Regions from separate parts of the Homo sapiens genome. Here region 2 is linked to region 1. The links are contacts of gene promoters, found by promoter capture Hi-C in human tissues and cell types (Jung and others, 2019). All regions are on one chromosome and are shown on one strand. The core of a region is centred on a gene start or on the middle of the fragment in contact, and the rest is flanking DNA. Distances in the headings are between cores, read along the strand shown.

The links. The method cuts DNA at HindIII sites, captures the fragments that hold promoters and counts their contacts. A contact is called where the count stands out against the background at its distance.
Region 2: a contact is called between a fragment that was not itself captured here and the fragment with the promoter of STK25 in region 1, in 3 of the 25 tissues and cell types used here (IMR-90 fibroblasts, bladder and pancreas).

What each region holds. Positions count from the first base shown.
Region 1 is chr2:241,504,416-241,510,799 of GRCh38, reverse strand. STK25 (serine/threonine kinase 25) reads left to right here and starts at 2,216. Exons shown (of 12, transcript NM_001271977.2): 1 at 2,216-2,357; 2 at 2,665-2,794. The coding sequence starts at 2,765. It overlaps LOC107985788 (a long non-coding RNA gene), which reads right to left and starts at 1,928. Exons shown (of 2, transcript XR_001739177.2): 1 at 1,703-1,928; 2 at 905-1,362. RefSeq lists silencers at 1,812-2,581, 2,862-2,911 and enhancers at 3,342-3,391, 4,547-5,083. The HindIII fragment of the contact is 21,130 bases long and covers 1-6,384 here.
Region 2 is chr2:241,422,262-241,428,863 of GRCh38, reverse strand. The region is part of intron 8 of FARP2 (FERM, ARH/RhoGEF and pleckstrin domain protein 2); the gene reads right to left. Among named protein-coding and RNA genes, the nearest start is that of MIR3133, 52 kb to the left of the region's middle. The HindIII fragment of the contact is 3,912 bases long and covers 1,413-5,324 here.

The DNA of each region.
Region 1 (6,384 bases), core at 967-3,466:
GATAAAACCGAAGAATAAGGCCGAGCGTGGTGGCTCATGCCTGTAATCCCAGCACTTTGGGAGGCAGAGGTGGGCAGATCACGAGGTCAGGAGTTTGAGACTAGCCTGACCAACATGACCAACATGATGAAACCCCGTCTCTACTCAAAATACAAAAATTAGCCGGGGGTGGTGGCGCACGCCTATAATCCCAGCTACTCAGGACGCTGAGGCAGGAGAATCGCTTGAACCTGGGAAGCGGAGGTTACAGTGAGCCAAGATCGCACCACTGCACTCCAGCCTGGGAGACAGAGTGAGACTCCGTCTCAAAACAAACACACAAACAAACAAAAACCCCGAAGAATAACAGAAGTATACAACAACAAAAAAGAAATGGAAAACAAGAGAAACGGGATGAAGGGCCTGGAAGGTCAATGCAGGAAAAGACATGGTGATGATCACGTCCGGACGGCAGCTTAGCAAGACAGCAGCCAGGAGCAAAGGGTTAACAATTGGCCAAAAGCAGGCAAAGGCTGAAAAACTCTTCTAGGCACTTTTATTAATTTGTTTTTTGAGGCAGAGCCTTGCTCGGTCTCCCAGGCTGGAGTACTGTGGCATGATCTTGACTCACAGCAACCTCCAACTCCCAGGTTCAAGCGATTCTCCTGACTCAGCCTCCCTAGTAGCTGGGACTACAGGCACGCACTACCATGCCTGGCTAATTTTTGTATTTTTAGTAGAGATGAAGTTTCACCATGTTGGCTAGGCTGGCCCCGAACTCCCAACCTCAAGTGATCTGCCTGCCTCAGCCTCCCAAAGTGCTGGGATTACAGGTGTGAGCCACTGCTCCCAGCCTCTTCTAGGCACTTCGGAAAAGTGCAGCGATTACTGACCACACGAAGGCCAGAGATGCAGCAGGCATCTATTTACATGCATTAAATACATATATTATCTTCATGCATTTACACATTCATTCAACAAACATTACTGAGCGCCTGCCGTGGGCTGGCATGGTCCTGGGCACAGCTCCGCTTGCAGGAAGCCCACTTTCTCCTGGGGAGTCAAAGCACAAACAAAGCCAAGTCAGTACGTAAAGAAGCAGGGGTGATGAGAGATGCGGACCCAGGAGGGGTTCAAGGGGCTGTCCTGGACGCATGACAGGGAAGCATAGCTTCTTAAAGGACTCGGCAGTGCACCATGAGAAGACACGCACCAGGGAGCAGAGAGAAACGCCAGAACCCTCTCGAAGAAGGAGGGATGTGAGGAGGTCAGGATAGTCACCTGTGCTGAGCCATCATGGAGAGTGAGGGCCTGTAAGGGTGGACACAGTATGCAGGAGGGACAAATCTTCCTCACCGGACAGGTGGGGATCCCTGCGGTGCACTAGGGGAATGCACACAGGGGGCACTATGACCTGGCGGCCCACGGGGCACGGGGACGCACCAGGTAGCCTTGGGATCTGCAAGTCCCTCCCGGACCCTGGGGAGTGCCATGACGGCTTCCAGCAGCAGTCACTGTCCTGGGCGCGTCCCGCGCTCTAGCCCAGGTGGGTCCCACAACGGTGTGACCAAGGACGTCCTATGACCACCCCTTGACAGGTAAGGAAACTGAGGCAGGAGAGGCGAAGCAACTCGCCCAAGGAATGGGCTGTGCCGGTAGCTTCTCCAAGGCCTGGTGCGCCCTGGCCTGTGCGCGTGATCCCGGGCGGGGTCTCAGTACGAACAGGGGCTTCGCGATGTGGCCAGCGCGGGCTTATCTCCGTGCCGTGACGACAAGGCTAGAAGCCTGGGCGGCCGCGGTGGATCCTCGTGGCGAGGCGGGGAGGGCGCCGGGCCTCACTGGCCCGCTCGAACCAGGGCTGCGCAGGGCAGAGCCCAAGGGAGAGGGCCGCGCGGCCGCCGTAACGTCGGAGACGACGCCTGGCAGGCGCCAGCAAACGCAGAAGACCCGCGAGGGCGAGGCAGGGAGGGCGCGACGCGACAACGACCACGTGCCCCGCCCGCCCAGGCGCGCGGCCTGCCGGGAGACGCAGTCCAAACCTTTCGGGAGCAGGACTAGGGGTCCCAGAGAGCCTCGCGGCGCGCATGCGAGCCCCGGCCCCCTCTCGCGCAGCCTGCCGGGACTTGTAGTCCAACGCCAGCAGGCTTCCGGGCCCGGAGTGGGCGGTGGGACTCGGGGTCCCAGAGAGCCGTGCGCGGGCCGCGACGCCGAGCACCGCCCTCGCCGTCGCCTCCGGGCTTTCTCCGGTCGCTGCCGCCACCACCGTTGCTTCGCGGGCTGGGAGGCCCGGGGTCCCCGGGCGAACAGAGGCTGCGGGTGGGAGCCTTCGCGGGCGCTGCAGAGCGGGCCGGGGGAGGCCGGGATGGAGCCCCGCGGAGGTGGGCGCGCTGCCGGGCGGGGCGCTTGCGGCGATTGGGGAGGGGGCAGAGGGAGGGGCCCGGGGCGGGGCTCGGTGGCGGGGACACCGGGGCGGGGGCACCGGGAGGAAGCTGCCTTGGAAGAGGTGGGGGCGGCGACGGGAGGGGCGGCGAGCCCCCGGGAGCCTGGGCGTTAGGCCCGGGCGTGGCGGGGCCCCGGCGGCCTGGGGGGTCTCCTGGGCCCCCCCCCACCCATGGAGCCCGCCGCCCCGGAGGTCGGTCTCAGATGACTGAACTGGGCACCGAGCGCCCCTGGTGTCCCTCGCAGTGGACTGACGCCGCAGGGGCGAGCTAGCCGGCTCCGCGCCTCTCCGCGGGATCCAGACGCCTCCTGGGGCTGCTGGCGGAGGGTCTGAGGCGGCGCGGCCATGGCTCACCTCCGGGGATTTGCCAACCAGGTGAGAAGGGTGCAGGTCAGGAAGACTAGCGGCCTCTCACCGAGGGGCTCCAGAGTCTCCTGGGGGTTCAGAGGGGAGCGCCACGCCGGAGCGGGCAGTGGGGTGAGGGAAGGAGCGCGCGTCGTGCGACCAGCGGAGCCGTCCTGAGGTGGGCGCAGGGCGGCCCCGGGGCTCTGCCGTGTGCCTGTGGCGTTTTGCGTGGCAGAAGCTCGCAGGCCTCTAGAAACCGAGCCCCTGGTGGCTCCGCCTGTGCGAGGGCGGTGGAGGTGCGTGAAGAGACACCGGCGCAGGGACGGGGCGCTGCCCCCAGCGCGGGGCGGGAACCTCATGTCAGCATCCGAAGGCAGTGGAAGGTCGGGGGCCACCCTGCGGCCTCGGCCTGGGCCGCGGGTCATTCTGGCCGTGTTGGGCTGGGCAGGGGCTGTAGGGGAGACCCTGGCGGGCGCTGAGGGGCTGAGATTGTGGAGAAGCAGATCTGAGTGGCCGGTGTGCAGGGAAAGCAGAGAACACGTGTGTGCTTTGGCCCAGGGGAGGGTGAAAAGGCTGCTCTGTCAGGACCGTTTAACCCCTGCGACGGGCGGTTGCCCGAACATGAGACTCATCTTTCTTCTTTAAAGAAGTCGTTTCCACTATGGAGCCACCTTTAAGCGTCTGGTGGGACAGCCTCGGAGGGAGCCACTACGGCGAGCCCTTAGCCTGGAATGAGGACCAGCTGCTGGTGCCAAAGGGCTTGCCGGGGAAGGAGGGTGGGGTCAGCCAACCTGGGGCCTGGGGACTTGCATTCTCTACCCCTCCCCACTTTTTTGACTCTGGCCGCTGGGTTTTCTTACATCTTAGCTGTTCGGTTTTATTCTCCTTGATGCCTTGGCTCTACCTAAGGCGTTGGAATCGCCGCTAAAATGTGTGGCCCTCCTTGTTCACTCCTATGTGCTGAATGGAGAGTTGGGCCTGCAGTGGAACAGGAAGGGCGTCTGTTCGCGTAGGGGCAGGAACTGGAGTCAGGGCTGCTTTGGAGGAAACCGGACCAGCCTAGAGACCCGGAACACCATGTGCAGCTGTTGGGCCAGGCAACCTGGACCTGCGTGGTCACAGATGAGACTGGGGCTTGCTGACTGTTGCTGAATTAAGCTAACAGATTTTTGGTTTGCTTTTGGCATTCTGTATCTGGTAACTTACATGACTAAGGTGCTGGGAGAAAAATCTGCCACCAGTTTATTTTACTTTATTTTTATTTTTTTGAGACGGAGTTTCGCTTTTGTTGCCCAGGTTGGAGTGCAATGGTGCAATCTCAGCTCACTGCACCCTCTGCCTCCCAAGTACAAGCGATTCTCCTGTCTTGGCCTCCCAAGTAGCTTGGATTACAGGCATGCGCCACCATGCCCAGCTAATTTTGTATTTTTAGTAGAGACGGAGTTTCACCATGTTGGTCAGGCTGGTCTCAAACTCCTGACCTCAGGTGATCTGCTTGCCCTGGCCTCCCAACGTGCTGGGATTACAGGCATGAGCCACCGCGCTCGGCCACCAGTTTATTTTTAAGAACTGCAGAAATAACTCCTTTGGGTCACAGGATGAGAAATTGGAGCTCCGAGGTGCCCTGTAACTGTGTGCTATTGGTTCTTGGTGCGATCGCACACAGGGAAGGGAGTGCGGGCACATTGGAGAAGGGATTCCAAAGGTAGGAAGCTCCTTTTGTCCTTTTAGGGATCCCTTTGTCCCAGCCTGGATGATGAGAGACTTGACTTCATATAGTGGCAGAAAACCTGAGGGGCTGTGGTTTTCTCCTGAGATGGTTGCCATGGTGTCCTGTGGACCTGTGGGGCAGCCCCTTTGTGGGAGAGTGGGGCGCGTTCCCCCCATAGCCTGTGCTCCTGCCTTAGACTTCTCCCCTCTACCTGGCCAGTTCCTGCCTGGCCCTGGAGGGCCCGAATGGCTGTGGGGTGCCAGAGCACTGTATCACCACTCAGCTATGTGTGCTGGGTCATTCCCCTTGTTTTGTGGGGCAACACTGACAGCAGACACATTGGCAAGTGGAGGCCCCAGACCTGGCAGCCCCAGGGCTAATGTGGAGAACAGGTGTCCACCGCTCGAGTCAGCTGAGTGGCCCGAGTGATCATCCAGGCCACAGCTGCTGCTACATCCAAAAGAGGATTCGCAGCCTCCAGGCCAGGGGCCCACTTACCCTTTCTTCTCCAGGTGGGGGTGGGGATGGCTTGCCTTGGCTTGGCCTGCGATGTCATTGTAGGGCCAGGATCACAGCCAAGAGGGTTCCTGTCACACAGTTTCTGCTTGGGCTGATGAGCCCTGGCTCTGGCTTAGGGGTCCGCTGTGCTCCCCTGCTGTGAAGCAGTAGAGGTCTGAGTGCCCACCCAGGGGTTTCCCTACCGGGGCTGCTGTGATGGAGCAGATTCAGCTCCAGGCCCTGTGTGGAGAGCAGCATGGCCTCAGCAGGGAGCAGGGAGTAGAGCAGGGCGGGAGGACGCGTCATCCAGAGAGGCCTGAAGAGTCGGAGGGGTGGTGGTGCTGGGTAATGCTGCCAGGTCATGGCCCTGCTTTCTCCAGGCCCTCTCTCAGGCCACCTTAGACAGGAGTAGATGGGAGGACACAAGCTCAGGGCACCAACAGACCTCTGGAATCCCCAGGAGGACTCCCTTGGGGTCTTTCCGGGTGCTTGGGCAGGGTTGGGTTGAGGCTGAGGCCAGGCCTACAGGCTAACGGCTCGGTGGAGCAGCGTCCCAGGGCCCCGAGTAAGCGTTGATGGGCTGAGCAAACAGGGAGGATTTGACAAGGTGGCGTTGGGCCTGCTGGAGGAGGAGCAGGCAGAAGAGGGGCTGCTTCTGCAGATCACCTGAGGTCAGGAGTTCGAGACTAGCCTGGCCAACATGGTGAAACCCTGTCTCTACAAAAATTCAAAAAAAAAAAAAATTAACGGGGCATGATGGCGGGTGCCTGTAAGTCCGGCTACTCGGGAGGCTGAGGTGGAAGAATCGCTTGAACCTGGGAGGCGGAGGTTGCAGTGAGCCGAGATCACGCCACTGCACTCCAGCCTGGGCAACAGAGTGAGACTCTATCTCAAAAAAAAAAAGAAAAAGAAGAGGGGCTGCTTCTTAACCTTGTCCTGCACCTGGCATCCAGGACTGGGCTAGGAACGGGTGGTCCTCCACCAGAAATGGAGCAAACAGGGAGGAGGAAACGGAGATGATGCTCTCTATGGCAGGAGGGTGATATTTTAACACTGACTGCTTACCTATGACAGCCAGTGGGCTGATGAGCTTATGCTTTGACATGCACTTGTGGGCCCAGCTACTCAGGAGGCTGAGGAGACCAGCCTGGGCACACAGCGAGACCCCCCATCTCAAAAAAAGATTGCATGTTCTGGGTTGACTTTCCTTTCAGATAGGGGCTGGTTCTCACCTCATCTGTGCCACCCACCCTCAACCCGGAGACAGCTGAGCACCTGTGACTTGTCAGCTTTGAATTTTTCCTGGCTTCTCTTTAGAACACATGGTCAGCAGCAGTGATGGGGCTGGGGGCAGACACAGCTCACCTTGACCGGAATGACCCCAGGCAGTACTCAGCTCTCTCTATCCTGC
Region 2 (6,602 bases), core at 2,119-4,618, 83 kb after region 1:
TCCATAGAGAGGGAATATCCTGATGGGTGCCTGTTCTGGATACCAGTGGTTGCTGGGGGCTGGCGGAGTAACTGCTAAAGAGTATGAGGGTCTCTTTTTGGGATGATGAAAACGTTCTGAAATTAGATAGTAGTGACGGTCATACAACTGTGTAAGTATCCTAAAACAACTGAATTGTATACTTCAACATGGTGAATTTTATGGCATACACATTTTATCTCAATTAAAAAAAAAAAAATCCTGAGTTAGATGTTCTCAAAGCCAAGATACAAACATTAGGGTCTAAATGAGGACTTAAGCTTCCTAGTTCCCAAAATATTGCCCCAACACTAAGTCGTTCTAATTTCTACTGAAAGTAAAATATTGAAGGCCAGGTGCTGTGGCTGACGCCTGTGATCCCAGCACTTTGGGAGGCTGAGGTGAGCAGATCACCTGAGGTCAGGAATTAAAAAAAAAAAAAAATTAGCTGGACATGGTGGCCAGTGCCTGTAATCCTAGCTACTCAGCAGGCTGAGGCAGGAAAATCATTTGAACCCAGGAGGCGCAGGTTGCAGTGAGCAGAGACTGCGCCACTGTACTCCAGCCTGGACGACAAAGGGAGACTCCGTCTCAAAAAAAAAAAAAAAAAAGTAAAATATTGGAGGATTTTCAACTACATTCTCAAAATTTCTGTCCTAAATTGTATTCTCAAAAACAAAGCAAAACAAAACATCAACAAAAGGAAACAAAATCCCCATAGCCCCAGTTCTAGATATTATTTATATATCCAGGACAGAGTCTTAAAAAACCGAGGGCCTAGGCTGGGCGTGGTGGCTCATGCCTGTAATCCCAGCACTTTGGGAGGCCAAGGCGGGCGGATCACGAGGTCAGGAGATCGAGACCATCCTGGCTAACACAGTGAAACCCCGCCTCTACTAAAAATACAAAAAATTAGCCAGACGTGGTGGCAGGCGCCTCTAAGTCCCAGCTACTCGGGAGGCTGAGGCAGGAGAATCGCTTGAAGCTGGGAGGCGGAGGTTGCAGTGAGCTGAGATCGCGCCACTGTACTCCCACCTGGGCGACAGAGTGAGACTCCATCTCAAAAACAAAACAAAAAACCGAGGGCCTGCCACGGAGGTAAGAGATGAAGCCCTCCCAAGAAGTGGGCCAACAATAGCTCAGAGGCCCCCAAATAACTGCTCCAGCTGCTTGTTCAATCCCTTCTGGTCAAAATAAGAAATTTCTACAGCTGTCTCTTGGTATCTGTAGGGGATTGGTTCCAGGACCCTCTACCCCAGTACCCCAATCTATAAATCTTGAGGCTCTGATAGAAAATGGTGTAGTATTTGCATATAACCTACACACACCATCTCTACAAAAAAACCTACAATTTTTGTAGAGATGAGGTCTTGCTTTGCTGCTAAGGCTGGTCTCCCGAGCTCTGGTGATTCTCTTGCCTTGACCTTCCAAAGTGCTGGGATTACAGGCTTGAGCTACCACGCTGGGCTTCCTGTATACTTTAATAAAATCATTTCTAGATTACTTATGTACCTAATACAATGTAAACGTCACATAGTTTTACTGTACTGTGTTAAATTTGTATTTTTTAAAAAATTACACAGACACATATATGTGTGTGTGTGTGTTTTGAGACAGAGTTTCGCTCTTGTTGCCCAGGCTGGAGTGCAATGGTGCGATCTTGGCTCACTGTAACCTCGGCCTCCTGGATTCAAGCGATTCTCCTACCTCAGCCTCCTGAGTAGCTGGCATTACAGGCACCTGCCACCACACCTGGCTAATTTTTGTATTTTTAGTAGAGATGGGGTTTCACCATGTTGGCCAGGCTGGTCTCGAACTTGTGACCTCAGGTGATCTACCAGCCTTGGCCTCCCAAAGTTCTGGGATTACAGGTGTGAGCCACCGCGCCCAGCCTGTATTGTTTTTTATCGTTTATTTTCCTGCGGATATGGAGGGCCAACTGTATATCCCAGGGTCTTGACCACCATGATAAAAGGAGAAATAAATAGAAAATCCAAGGACAATCACAGCTTTCATCTACTGCACCCTGACTTGACAGACTTTAAGACAACACTTTTAAACCTGCACAGTTAGCTGTGGAATGCTAAAATCTACTGTTTTCATTTTCATATTCATCCAATAATCCAGGGCATATCTGAAAATGCCATATAGACTACACGACTGGAAACAAACTGCCAGGTCAGGGTCACCCACTCCACATCAAGTCCTCTTCCTCAGACAGAACCAGCTTCACCTCTCTTGGCTGCCTTTCTGGGATTTACTCTCATGCATCCATTCATTCACCCGTATTTCTGAAAAGCACATTTATGACAGCTAGCACATTCTCCACTTTGAAATCTTGCCTCCTCAACATCTGTCACTGCCAATACCTCACACCTACCCCTCCCCACACTCTCCTAATTGTTGGTAAATTTTAAATTCAGTATTTATATTAATGGTCATGTAAGCATTGCTCACAAGCTGAGCTATAGTGAATTTAACTACTTTTTTTATATTATAAAGTAAAGCTTCCTTCTTCAAAATTTCCTTGAGAATCCTAATTGCCTCGTTTCATTTGCTTCACCGGCATGTACCTATCCCTAGTTAACACTCTTCCACACCGTCCAGCAAAAGAAATGAGTCCCTGGTCTACCCTCTCTCCCGGGGCCCTGCCCTCTGCTCTGGTATTGGTGGATGCTCTCTTGGCAGGCAGAACCTGTGTCTTCCTCTGCCTGTCTCGGATGTGGAGCACCCTATTTCCTTCTTTCTCACTTTTAGTTCATTCTCTCCTCTAGTTTTTCCTTACAAAGGGAGAGTAGTAGTTAAATTTTTTAAAAATCTACATGTGTGAAAAAAGGTTTTCTCTGTACAGAAGTCATGTGGAACAGAGCACAGAATTCTAGTCTAGAGCCCCACACACACCAAATTTAAAAAAAAAATCGCCAAATGCTCGGGGAAACTGATTTGAGTAATAATAAAACTGTAGTCTCAAAAAAAAAAAAACAAAAGAATTAGTTTGGAAATAATTTCCTTTTAATGTTTGAGATGCTGCCATTGCAGTGACATTGCACTCCAGCCTGGGCAACAAGAATGAAACTCTGTCTCAAAAAAAAAAAAAAAAAAAAGAGAGAGAGAGAAATTGTACCAGCTCTTCTTTGTACCTCTGGTTGAATTCAGCTGTGAATCCATCTGGTCCTGGGCTACTTTTTTTTTTTTTTTTTTTTTTTTTTTTACTTGGTAGGATATTATTGCCTCAATTTCACAACACATTTCTAGTCTATTCAGGGATTCAATTTCCCCCTGGCTCGGAAAGCCCCGTTGCTTTCTAGCTTCCAGTACTGCTACGGAATAGTTCCAGGCCATTTTAAATCACACTTCTTTCTCTCTTCTTCCTGGGAGTTCTTGGGTCTTCTCCACTATTATCCTTTGTTGGATGGATAGACTGCAAAATTTTTCTCCCATTCTGTAGGGTTGTCTGTTCACTCTGATGATAGTTTCTTTTGCTGTGCATAAGCTTTTCAGTTTAATTAAATCTCATTTATCAATTTTTGCTTTTGTTGCAATTGCTTTTGGCATTTTCGTCATGAAATCCTTCCTGTGCCTGTGTCCTGAATGGCATTGCCTAGATTTTCTTCCAGGGTTTTTTTTGTTTTTGTTTTTGAGACAGGGTCGCACTTCATCGCCCAGACTGGAGTATAGTGGCTTGATTTTGGCTCACTGCAACCTCCGCCTCCCAGGCTCAAGCGGTTCTCCTTCCTCAGTCTCTCAAGTAGCTGGGGTTATAGGCACCCACTATCATGCCTGGCTAATTATTATATTAGTAGAGACAGGGTTTTACCATGTTGGCCCCAGGCTGGTCTTGAACTCCTGACATCAAGTGATCTGCCCCCATTGGCCTCCGAAAGTGCTGGGATTCAGACGTGAGCCACTGTGTCTAGCCCTCATCTAGGGTTTTTATAAGTTTCTTTCTGGTTCAGTCTTGGGAGAGCGTATGTGTCCAGGAATTTATCAGTTTCTTTTAGATTTTCCACTTTATGTGCATAGAGGTGTTTATAGCATTCTCTGATGATCGTTTATATTTCCGTGGGTTCAGTGGTGATATTCCCCTATCATTTCAGATTGTTCATTTGATTATTCTCTATTATCTTCTTTACTAGTCTAGCTAGCAGTCTATTTTATTAATTTTTTCAAAAAACCAGCTCCTGGATTTGATTTTTTGAAGGGGTTTTTGTGTCTCTATCTCTTCAGTTCAGCTCTGATCTTGGCTATTTCTTGTCTTCTGCTAGCTTTGAGGTTTGTTTGCTCTTGATTTTTTAGTTCTTTTAGTTGAGATGTTAGGTTGTTAACCTGAGATCTTTCTAGCTTTTTGATGTGGGCATTTAGTACTATAAATTTCCCTCTTAACAATGCTTTAGCTGCATCCCAGATTCTGATATGTTATCTCTTAGTTCTCATTAGTTTCAAATAATTCTTGATTTCTACCTTAATTTCATTATTTACCCAAGAGTCATTCAGGAGCAGGTTGTTCAATTTCCATATAGTTGTGTGGTTTTCAGTGAATGTTTAAATCTTGAGTTCTAATTTGATTGTGCTGTGGTGTAAGAGACTGTTTGTTATGATTTCAGTTCTTATGCATTTGCTGAGGAGTGTTTTGCTTCCGATTATGTGATCAGTTTTAGACAAAGTGCCATGTGGTGATGAGAAGAATTTATATTCTTTTGTTTTTGGGGGGACAGTTCTGTAGCTATCTATAAGGTCACTTTATCCAGGGCTGAGTTCAGGTCCTGAATATTTTCAGAAAGTTAACTTTCTGTCTTGATGATCTGTCTAATATTGTCAGTGGGGTGTTAAAGTCTCCTATTATTATTGTGTGGGAGTCTAAGTCGTTTTTTAGATCTTTAAGAACTTGCTTTATGAATCTGGGGGCTCCTGTATTGGGTGCATATATATTTAGGATAATTAGCTCTTCTTGTTGAACCCTTTACCATTATATAATGCCCATCTTTGTCTTTTTTAATCTTTGTTGCTTTAAAGTCTGTTCTGTCAGAAACTAGGATTGCAAGCCTTGTTTTTTTCTGTTTTCCATTTGCTTGGTAAATTTTATTCCATCCCTTCATTTTGAGTCTATGTGTGTCTTTGCACGTGAGACAGGTCTCTTGAAGACAGCATACCCATAGGTCTTGGCTCTTTATCCAGCTTGCCATTCTGTGTCTTTTAATTGGGGGCATTTAGCCCATTTACATTTAAGGTTAATATTGTTATATGTGAATTTCATCCTGTCATCATGGTCCTAGCTGGTTATTTTGCAGACTTGTTTTTGTGGTTGCTTTATAGTGTCACTGGTCTATGTATTTCAGTGTGTTTTTGCAGTGGCTGTTAACAGTTTTTCCTTTCTGTATTTAGTGCTTCCTTCAGGAGCTCTTGCAAAGCAGGCCTGGTGGTGATGAATTCCCTAAGCACTTGCTTGTCTGAAAAGAATCTTATTTCTGTTTTGCTTATGAAGTTTAGTTTGGCCAGATATGAAATTCTGGGTTGGAAATTTTTTCCTAAGAATGTTGAATATTGGCCCCCAATCTCTTCTGGCTTGTAGGGTTTCTGCTGAGAGGTCCCCTGTTAGTCTGAAGGGATTCCCTTTGTAGATGACCTGGCCTTTCTCTCTGGCTGCCTTTAATATTTTTTCTTTTATTTCAACCTTGGAGAATCTGATGATTATATGTCTTGGGGCAGATCTTCTTGTGGAGTATCTTACTGGGGTTCTCTGCATTTCCTGAATTTGAATATTAGCCTGTCTCGTTAGGTTGGGGAAATTCTCCTGGATGATATCCCAAAGTATGTTTTCCAACTTGATTCCATTCTCCCTGTCTCTTTTGGGTAACCCAATCAGTTATAGGTTTGGTCTCTTCACATAATCCCATATTTCTTGGAGGTTCTGTCATTCCTTTTCATTCTTTTCTCTCTATTCTTGTCTGCCTATTTCAGAAAGATAGTCTTCAATGCTCTGAGATTCTTTCCTCTGCTTGGCCTATTCTGCTATTGATACTTGTGATTGCAATGTGAGGTTCTCGTGTTGTGTTTTTCAGCTACATCAGGTAGGTTATGTTTCTCTCAAAACCGGCTATAAGCTCCTGTGTTGTTTTATCATGGTCCTTAGCTTCTTTGCATTGGGTTACAACATGCTCCTTTAGCTCAGCAAAGTTCATTATTACCCACCTTCCAAAGCCTGCTTCTGTCAATAATGCTATCTCAGCCTCAGCCCCAGCCCATTTCTATGCCCTTGCCAGAGAGGTATTGTGGTCATTTGGAGGAGAAGAGGCACTCTGACTTTTTGAGTGTTCAGCATTTTTGTGTTGATTTTCTCATCTCTGTGGGTTTATCAAACTTTGATCTTTGAGGTTGCTGACCTTTGAATGGGGCTTTTATGGGTTTTTTGGTTCATGTTGTTGTTGTTTTCTGTTTTTTTTTTTGATACAGGGTCTCACTTTGTCACCCAGGGTGGAGTGCAGTGGCACGATCTTGGCTCACTGCAACCTCTGCCTCACAGATTCAAGCAGTTCTCCCTCCTCAGCCTACCGCTGTGCGTGGTTAATTTTTTTTTTTTTTTTTTT